Regions from separate parts of the Homo sapiens genome. Here region 1 is linked to region 2. The links are contacts of gene promoters, found by promoter capture Hi-C in human tissues and cell types (Jung and others, 2019). All regions are on one chromosome and are shown on one strand. The core of a region is centred on a gene start or on the middle of the fragment in contact, and the rest is flanking DNA. Distances in the headings are between cores, read along the strand shown. Region 1 has its middle 26 kb from the start of DHCR7. Region 2 holds the start of KRTAP5-9 (keratin associated protein 5-9).

Region 1 (4,065 bases), core at 1,421-3,920, 130 kb before region 2:
AACTCCCTCTGCTCCCCCTCATAGCACTCAGCCCCTTCCCTAAACACATATCAGTCAATTAACGTAAGTAATTTGGGCTGAAGCTTGTTCCCCTGGGTGCTATGCGTCTTGGTCTAGTCCTGACGACATCACACGTACAATACTTAAGCATATATTTGCAGAAGTAATACGCACACAAATCAAAACCACGAAACCTCTGGAAGGGTAGAGCATGAGAAAACAGCATCTTGCTCCCTCACTTGCACCCAGAATCCCAGCTCCTGTACCCCAAGTGAGCACGCAGCACATCCCATGAGTAGCCTGCACCTTTGAGCCTCTAGATTTCACCGCTGGTTTCTTGGTGCAAAGCAGGTTACTTCTGTGTGCACTGTGCTCCCCCTGGTGGCTGTTCCCTAGAGCACAATTCTCACGCCTCAGTCCCAAATCCAAGTTTCAGGAAGGAAATGGCTTCACACACTATTCCCTCTGACGCAAGGTTGGTACTTTCAGCCTTTCAACCTACCCCTCACATAATACCTAAGAATTTTGCAACATTTTTTAAAGTTCTTAAAACAGAATCGTAAAAGGGAGAGGCAGTTTTAATATGTACGTACTTAATTAAAACATCTAGTTCTGGGTCCTAAGGGGATGGGGAACGCAGTCTCTGTCCTATAGGAATGGTGAGCGTGTCTAGCGCAGGGGTTGGCAAACTGTGGCCCACACGCCAAATCTGGCCAACCGACTGCTTTAGTAAATAAAGTTGTATTGGAACATGCTGATTTAATTCTGTGTTTATTGTCTGCGGTTGTTTTCTCGCTGCAATGGCAGAGGTGAGTAATCGCAGCAGAGACCTCCTGACCTACAAAGCCCCAAATATTTACTCACTGGCCCTTTTCAGAATCAGTTTGCCCACTCCTGGTGGAGTGTTTCAATGGAGACACCTATGACAATGACGTATGATCAGTCTGGAAGGAAGCTTCCTCTTAGGATTTGATTTTCCATTCATTCATCCCGAAACTGTTGCATACCTACTATGTGCCAGACGTTATTCTGGCCAGAAAAGATTCTTGATGTTGTTTTCCAACTTGGAGAGCTGTAGTATTTTCAGTGAGAACAGTAAGTCATACCAGTTACCAAGGTTGGTCATTCAGGCACAGATGCCCCCTGTATGCTGAACTGAAACTTATCTCAGGCCCCATCACCCCCTTTGCCTGCATCCCCTGATACTGTTGGAAGCCAACTCTGTCTTCTATGGAGGATATTGACAGTGAATTCCAGCTTGGTAGGACAGGGGAGGAAGGAGCGTGTTGGTAAGGTCTGGATCTGGCTACACTCTCGCTGTTAGTCTGGGCAGAGTCTAAATTGAGCAGTGGGAGTGTAGCCAGATCAAACCAGGTCAAGTCCCTAGACCTTGACTGGAGGCCGCCTCACTTTCAGCAGTGGTAGCCGGCTTGTGTCGCTGGCGAGAAATGCAAACGTTTGTGAATTTCAAATATGTATATATATATATTTGTGCTCCAAAGGCAGCACACCCGCATATGATTCTCCAGACACCGGGAGGCACTCGTCTCCCCTCTCACCTTTGCAATCCCCAGGTGAAGAGGCAGCACCTCTTGGCGTGATTCTCAAGGGGGTTTGTGTTTATTCAGCAATTTTTGGTCTTGCTCGGGGATGTTCTCACTTCCTATTTAAAAATTTAAAAAAAAAGATTCTGAAAGACTTAAACAGTGAAAACATTTAGGCCAAACCAGAGCTACTGAAACACACACACACACACACACACACACACACACACACACACATATATATATATATATAATGTGTATATATATATATAATGTATATATATATATAAAATGTATATATATATATATATATATATATATAATGTGTATATATATATATGCAGGAACAGAAAGCCAAATACCACATGTTCTCAGTTATAAGAGACAGCTAAGCATTGAGTACACATGGACACAAAGAGGGGAACAATAAAGGGTGGGGCCCCCTTGAGGGTGGAGGACGGGAGGAGGGTGAGGATCAAAAAACTACCTATCAAGTACTATGCTTATTACCTGGATGATGAAATAATCTGTACCCCAAGCCCCTGCGACATGCAATTTACCCATGTAAATATATATATACCTATATATACATATGTGTATTTGGAAGAAAATACCAACCTGCTTTTCATTCACCAGGTGGCCGCACACAATGCATGGTTGGGCCTTCCCCTTAATAAACATACCTGGATAAAGAAAATCTGGTGCATATACACCATGGAATACTATGCAGCCATGAAAAGGAATGAGATTATGTCCTTTGCAGGGACATGGATGGAGCTGGAAGCCATTATCCTCAGCAAACTAACACAAGAACAGAAAACCAAGCACTGCATGTTCTCACTTATCAGTGAGAGCTGAACAATGAGAACACATGGACACAAGGAGGGGAGTAACACACACTGGTGCCTGTCAGGGGGTGGGGTGGGGGAACGGAGAGCATCAGGATAAATAGCTAATGCACGTGGGGCTTAATAACAAGGTGATGGGTTGATAGGTGCAACACATCACCGTGGCATACGTTTACCTATGTGACAAACCTGCACGTCCTGCACATGTACCCAGGAACTTAAAATTAAAATTTAAATTAAAAAAACACACACACACAGCCTTGGTTTAAATGTGGCCTTGCTGGTCTGTGTCAGACATGTTACAGAAACCCATCCCTCTCCTAAGAGTTCTGCCAGGACCCCTGGCTCCAGGACTTTGCAGCCTGCTTTTGAGCACATGCCCACAGAAATTACTGAATTCCAGTAACATCAAGAATCTTTTCTGGCCAGAATAAAGTCTGGCACATAGTAGGTATGCAACAGTTTTGGGATGAATGAATGGAAAATCAAATCCCTTTTAGAATGGAACAAGATCACAGAACTAATTCGGTTCCATTTTCACCTACAAGGAAAGCTTTTTTAGTAGCCGGAGGAAGAGGTAAAAAGTAGCATCAAGAGAACATGTAAAACCACTAACTTTCACTCAGGAGAAACTTAAAACTCCCAGAGCAACCCCTATATGATTCTCCAGACACAGGGAGGCACTGGCCTCCTCTCTCACCTTTGCAATCCCCAGGTGAAGAGATAGCACCTGTCGGCGTGATTCTCAAGGGGGTTTGTGTTTATTCAGCAATTGTTGGTCTTGCTCGGGGATGTTCTCACTTCCTATTTAAAAATTAAAAAAAAAAAAGATTCTGAAAGACTTAAACAGTGAAAACATCTAGGCCAAACCAGAGCTACTGAAACAAAGAACTCTTTGAAAATCACCTATAATGCAACCCACCCACAACCCTTCTGCTCTTTTCATTAGAGAATGAATCATTCCCTATAACTGAATAATCCGGTTAACAAAAACTAAGTAGAGCAGGATGTTTTTAAATGCACCAAGATCTCTAAAGGGCATTACAAAACTGCCTGCCTTCCTGAGCAGGGATGCTGGGTGTCAGGTGGCCTCTTCTGGGTAGCTCAGGCCACCATCATGCGCAATAATGGCAATGTGCTGTAACACAGCCGTGATCTTAGGGGCCCCGCCCTGTGTGGGCATCAGTCCCTGGCAGCAGCAGCCCCAGAATATTACCTTTTTGCTTTTATGCTCGTGTTTCTACTTTATCTATCACCATCCTTATGGTTGTTTTGGAGTGTGTGACCTTCCAGCGATCTGTCCTACCAAGGACAACAGCGGCCCTAAGACTTTTGCCGGGATGGCCAAGAAACTGGGAGGCTGAAGAGAGCTCGAAGTATGGAGCATCCCTGCCCTCAGCTGTGAGCAGGGGAGGCGTGGGAGGTATCCTGGGGATACTGGAGAGGTAGCCACATGTGTGGAGCAGGCAGAAGGAGGGTCCAGGTCGTCTGGCTGGGACAAGGCAAGGGCAGAGGAAGGTGCAGCTCACTTACATGGGCGGGACATTTACCTGGGCTGAAACGACAGCAATAGGCAGCTGTAGAAGGACACGGGGCAGCTCAGCGTGGAGACGCCGCACATTTCAACCTGACAGTTGAGGCTGTGCAAACAGAAGGTAGTCAGGACTGCTGAA
Region 2 (4,351 bases), core at 69-2,568:
GTCATAAGGCACCTTCTAGCCTCTGCTCGAGTGACCTCCTAGGAAGTACAGCTGCCCTGAGCCCACCATGCTGTGAGGAAGCCCAAGCCAGCCGTGGGAAGAGGCCGTGAGGTGGGGGAGGGGAGGGAGATCTGTCCGGCCTCACCTGTTGTAGCCATCCCATAGGTGTGTGAACACAGCATCTTGGACAAGCCAGCCCCAGCTGACATAATTTACAGAAAAACCAAGGAACCCTGCAGACAGCCGGAACTGAGGTCCCAAAATACAGCCCAGCCAAGCCATGCTGCCATCGTTAGCCATTGGTACCTTCCCAATTGAGACCCCACAAATCATGCGGCCTGTGCCACCATCCAGTGCCGGATCTGAACTACTGATCCACTGAGCTTTGGGCTGATTGGTTCTGCAACGATGGGTGGCCAAGGCCACGGTCAAATCCAGCTGGAGAGGTGGATGGGGCCAGTGTCAGGGGTTTGGATTTCACCCCAAGTCAGCTGAGGCACACTGGAATGTCGTAAGCCTGCACATCCACTCATCACACATTTTAACCGCATCTGAGTGTGGACCGTACCGATGGGTTCCTGCACCTGCAGCCTCCACACCATTGCTGGTGCCCTGCCTCCTAGCTGGAGTATCCTTCCTGTCTCTTGGCTGCTCTTTGTACCCATCATGGTCCCCCTACCACCCTCCAAGTTCTGCTCCAAGCTTTGTTTTCCTCCAAGAGAAGAACCTGTCCAGACAATAGTTTCAAAGCAGCGGGAAGCTCTGCTCACGTGTCCCCAAGGACCATGCTGTGTGAAATTCCCTTCTGTAATCACAGAGCCCATTGCCCTGGCCTATTCCTGGTCCAGGAATAGGGAGGAGGTAGACAGAGGATGCCTCCTTCCCCACTGCTGAGAACCCTGCCATCCTCAGCCACAGTTGCCACAGAGAAGATACCACATCCCTGGGGGAATCAGCAGGAATCAGGTAGAGAGTGGCACTGCTCTGGGGAGGGAGGGCGTCTCACAGCATCAAACGTCAAAAACCCACAACATTGACCCAGTCCTGCCAAGACGGAACCCTGCATGAGCATGGGGGATGGGGAGTTGGGGTGTTGCAAAAGACGCAATACATGAATGATCTCAGGTAATTCTCAGGCAACCCCCGGAGGCTGGTGTTGCTAGCACCCCTCTGCAGGAGAAGAAGCTGGGGCTCGGGAGCTGACTGGATCTGCTCAAAGGCCCAGGAAGAATAAGAGTTAGGAACTGGGACAGACCTTGAGGAAGCTGCACTTCCTCCTGAGGTGAGCCAGCGTTGGAGCTGTTTTTCCTTTCAGTATGAATTCCACAAGGAAATCATCTCAGGAGGAAGGGCTCATACTTGGATCCAGAAAATATCAACATAGCCAAAGAAAAACAATCAAGACATACCTCCAGGAGCTGTGTAACAGCAACCGGAAAGAGAAACAATGGTGTGTTCCTATGTGGGATATAAAGAGCCGGGGCTCAGGGGGCTCCACACCTGCACCTCCTTCTCACCTGCTCCTCTACCTGCTCCACCCTCAATCCACCAGAACCATGGGCTGCTGTGGCTGCTCCGGAGGCTGTGGCTCCAGCTGTGGAGGCTGTGACTCCAGCTGTGGGAGCTGTGGCTCTGGCTGCAGGGGCTGTGGCCCCAGCTGCTGTGCACCCGTCTACTGCTGCAAGCCCGTGTGCTGCTGTGTTCCAGCCTGTTCCTGCTCTAGCTGTGGCAAGCGGGGCTGTGGCTCCTGTGGGGGCTCCAAGGGAGGCTGTGGTTCTTGTGGCTGCTCCCAGTGCAGTTGCTGCAAGCCCTGCTGTTGCTCTTCAGGCTGTGGGTCATCCTGCTGCCAGTGCAGCTGCTGCAAGCCCTACTGCTCCCAGTGCAGCTGCTGTAAGCCCTGTTGCTCCTCCTCGGGTCGTGGGTCATCCTGCTGCCAATCCAGCTGCTGCAAGCCCTGCTGCTCATCCTCAGGCTGTGGGTCATCCTGCTGCCAGTCCAGCTGCTGCAAGCCCTGCTGCTCCCAGTCCAGATGCTGTGTCCCTGTGTGCTACCAGTGCAAGATCTGAGGCTCTAGTGGGAAACCTCAGGTAGCTCCTGAAGATCTGTGCTTTCCAACAAGTGACTACCCTTGAAGCACATCCCCTTCTGGATCTGAAAAGAGCCCTTGGCTCAGGGCGTCTTTTTCCAGCCCCTGAGGAAATGGAATGAACCACTCCCTGCCCATTCCCTATAAGAATATCCCAAGACCCAGGCAATTTTGCCCCTCTTTCCCACATGCCCCCATATGTCTGAGCCAAACTGCACTGGGGGCTGCCCTCATGCCAAGCAAGAGCCTGGAATTCCCCTTCTTGATAATTCCATGGGAGACAGCAAACCCTTCTTTCCTTTGCCTGCCAGGAGCTTCACGACATTTGCAGATGGATGTCCTGCAACCCAAATGATCACATGTATCTATGGAAATCCAAAATGCATCTGGGTGCAGCACTAAATAAATTCTCCATCCCTCAGCCTTGGTCTCACTGACTCTTTTCTTCCAGCCTCTGTCTCATTGGCAAACTGGCCACATGTCCTTCCCCTCCTCCCTGATAGCTTATTGCTCCCACTGCTGTAACAGTGTGCCAGGCCCAGCTCCCATTCCAGAAACAGTTGTTGAACTGATTAATGAAGGAACCACTAGCAGTATGTATGAATGAATGAAGACGAGGAATGAATGAGTGAATGAGTGAGTATCTCTCATTAGTACACAGGGAGTCCCAGCTGTATCTCAGTGGGATTCAGTCTGTCTTGGTTGGAATTTGGACTCCTACTTCTTCCCCATGGGAGGATATGTTTGGGAGAGAAGGAGAACTTTGCCCTCAGTGCCTAGGAAGGGATGTAATGGGTGCTCTCTGGGTCCAGCCAGTCCCCAGTTTGTGGGTCAAGCCAGGAGATGGGGAAGCGAGACTAGAATGAGCTGTGTCCCTGAGATGCTCTGTAGGACAACACTGGAAACTGTGCTGCTTCAAGGATCCAAGACGGTGTGGCTGAACACAGGCTGAAGTGCACCCTCCATCTCTGGGCTCAGAGTGAGGAGGAATCCAAGTGTCCACAGGCTTCCCAGCTTTGGTTTGGCACAGGGAGGAACAGAAGGGACTTTTCTCAGCCTGATAAAGGCCATCTACCCACAGTGAACACGGTGCTTAACTATGAAAACCTGGATGTTTTCCCCTAGGATCAGGAACAGGAAAAGAATGTCCACACCCACCACTTCTATGCAACATTTCACTGAAGCTATAGCCAGAATAACATAACAGGAAAAGAAAATAAAGCCATCCAGGTAAGAAAAAAGGAAGCAAAACTATCTCTATTCACAGAAAACCTCATCTTGTATACAGAAGATGCTGAGGGACACACACACACACACACACACACACACACACACAACTATTAGAGCCAATAACCGAGCTCAGCAGAGTGCAGAACACAAGGACTATACACAATAGTCAGCTGTGTTTCTTTACAACAGCAAAAAGCAAGCAAAAAGGTTGTAAGGAAACAATAAAATTCCTGGGAACAAATGCAACCAAAAAAGTACAAGACTTGGACACTTAACACTACAAAACACCATTGGAAGAAGTTAAGGAGGACCAAAGTAATGGGGGAAAAAATCCTATGTTCATGTATTGGAAGACCTAATATTGTGAAGATTGAAACACTCCAAAAAAAAATTGTTCTACCAATTTAATGCAATTCCGATCAACATCTCAGATTTCTTTTTTCAAAAATTGACAAGTTGATCCTAAAATTTATGTGGACATTCAAGGGACCCTAAATAGCTAAAACAATCTTGAAAAAGAAAAGCAAAGTTTGAGGACTCAGGTTTTCCAATTTCTAAATGGGCTGCAAAGCTACAGTCATCAAGGCAGCATGGCTCTTGCATAAGGATAGAAAGATGGATCAATGGGGTAGGTTTGAGACTCTTGAAATAAAGCCTCACAGTTGTGGTCAATGTATTTTCACAGGTACTATACAATTCCATGGGAAAAGAGGAATGTTTTCAACAAACAATGCTGCTAAGACAACTGGATGTCCACATGCAAAAGAGTGAATTTGAATCTTGACCTCATACCATATACCAAACAAACAAAAAAAAAATAGAAAAAATAGATCAATGACCTAATTGTAAAAGCCAAAACTAGAGGATTACTAGAAGCAAAACAGGTTAAGTTTTCATGACCTTGGAGTATGAAATGGTTCTTAGATAATGACACCAAAACCACAGGGAAAAACTAGATTAACTAACTACATCAAAACGAATAGTTTTTGTGCTTCTGAGGGCACTATGAAGAAAATGAAGATACACCAACAGAGT

Evidence for each region. Contacts are between HindIII fragments. The study calls those that stand out against the background at their distance.
Region 1: a fragment that was not itself captured here is called in contact with the fragment with the promoter of KRTAP5-9 in region 2 in 3 of the 25 tissues and cell types used here (liver, lymphoblastoid cells and mesendoderm cells).

The regions. Positions count from the first base shown.
Region 1 is chr11:71,420,242-71,424,306 of GRCh38, forward strand. It overlaps the pseudogene ACTE1P. Among named protein-coding and RNA genes, the nearest start is that of DHCR7, 26 kb to the right of the region's middle. RefSeq lists a silencer at 3,261-3,310. The HindIII fragment of the contact is 6,463 bases long and covers 1-4,065 here.
Region 2 is chr11:71,547,102-71,551,452 of GRCh38, forward strand. KRTAP5-9 (keratin associated protein 5-9) reads left to right here and starts at 1,319. Exons shown (of 1, transcript NM_005553.4): 1 at 1,319-2,507. The coding sequence starts at 1,557. The coding sequence ends at 2,066. RefSeq lists enhancers at 1,192-1,737, 1,738-2,282, 1,825-1,884, 3,283-3,332. The HindIII fragment of the contact is 7,685 bases long and covers 1-4,351 here.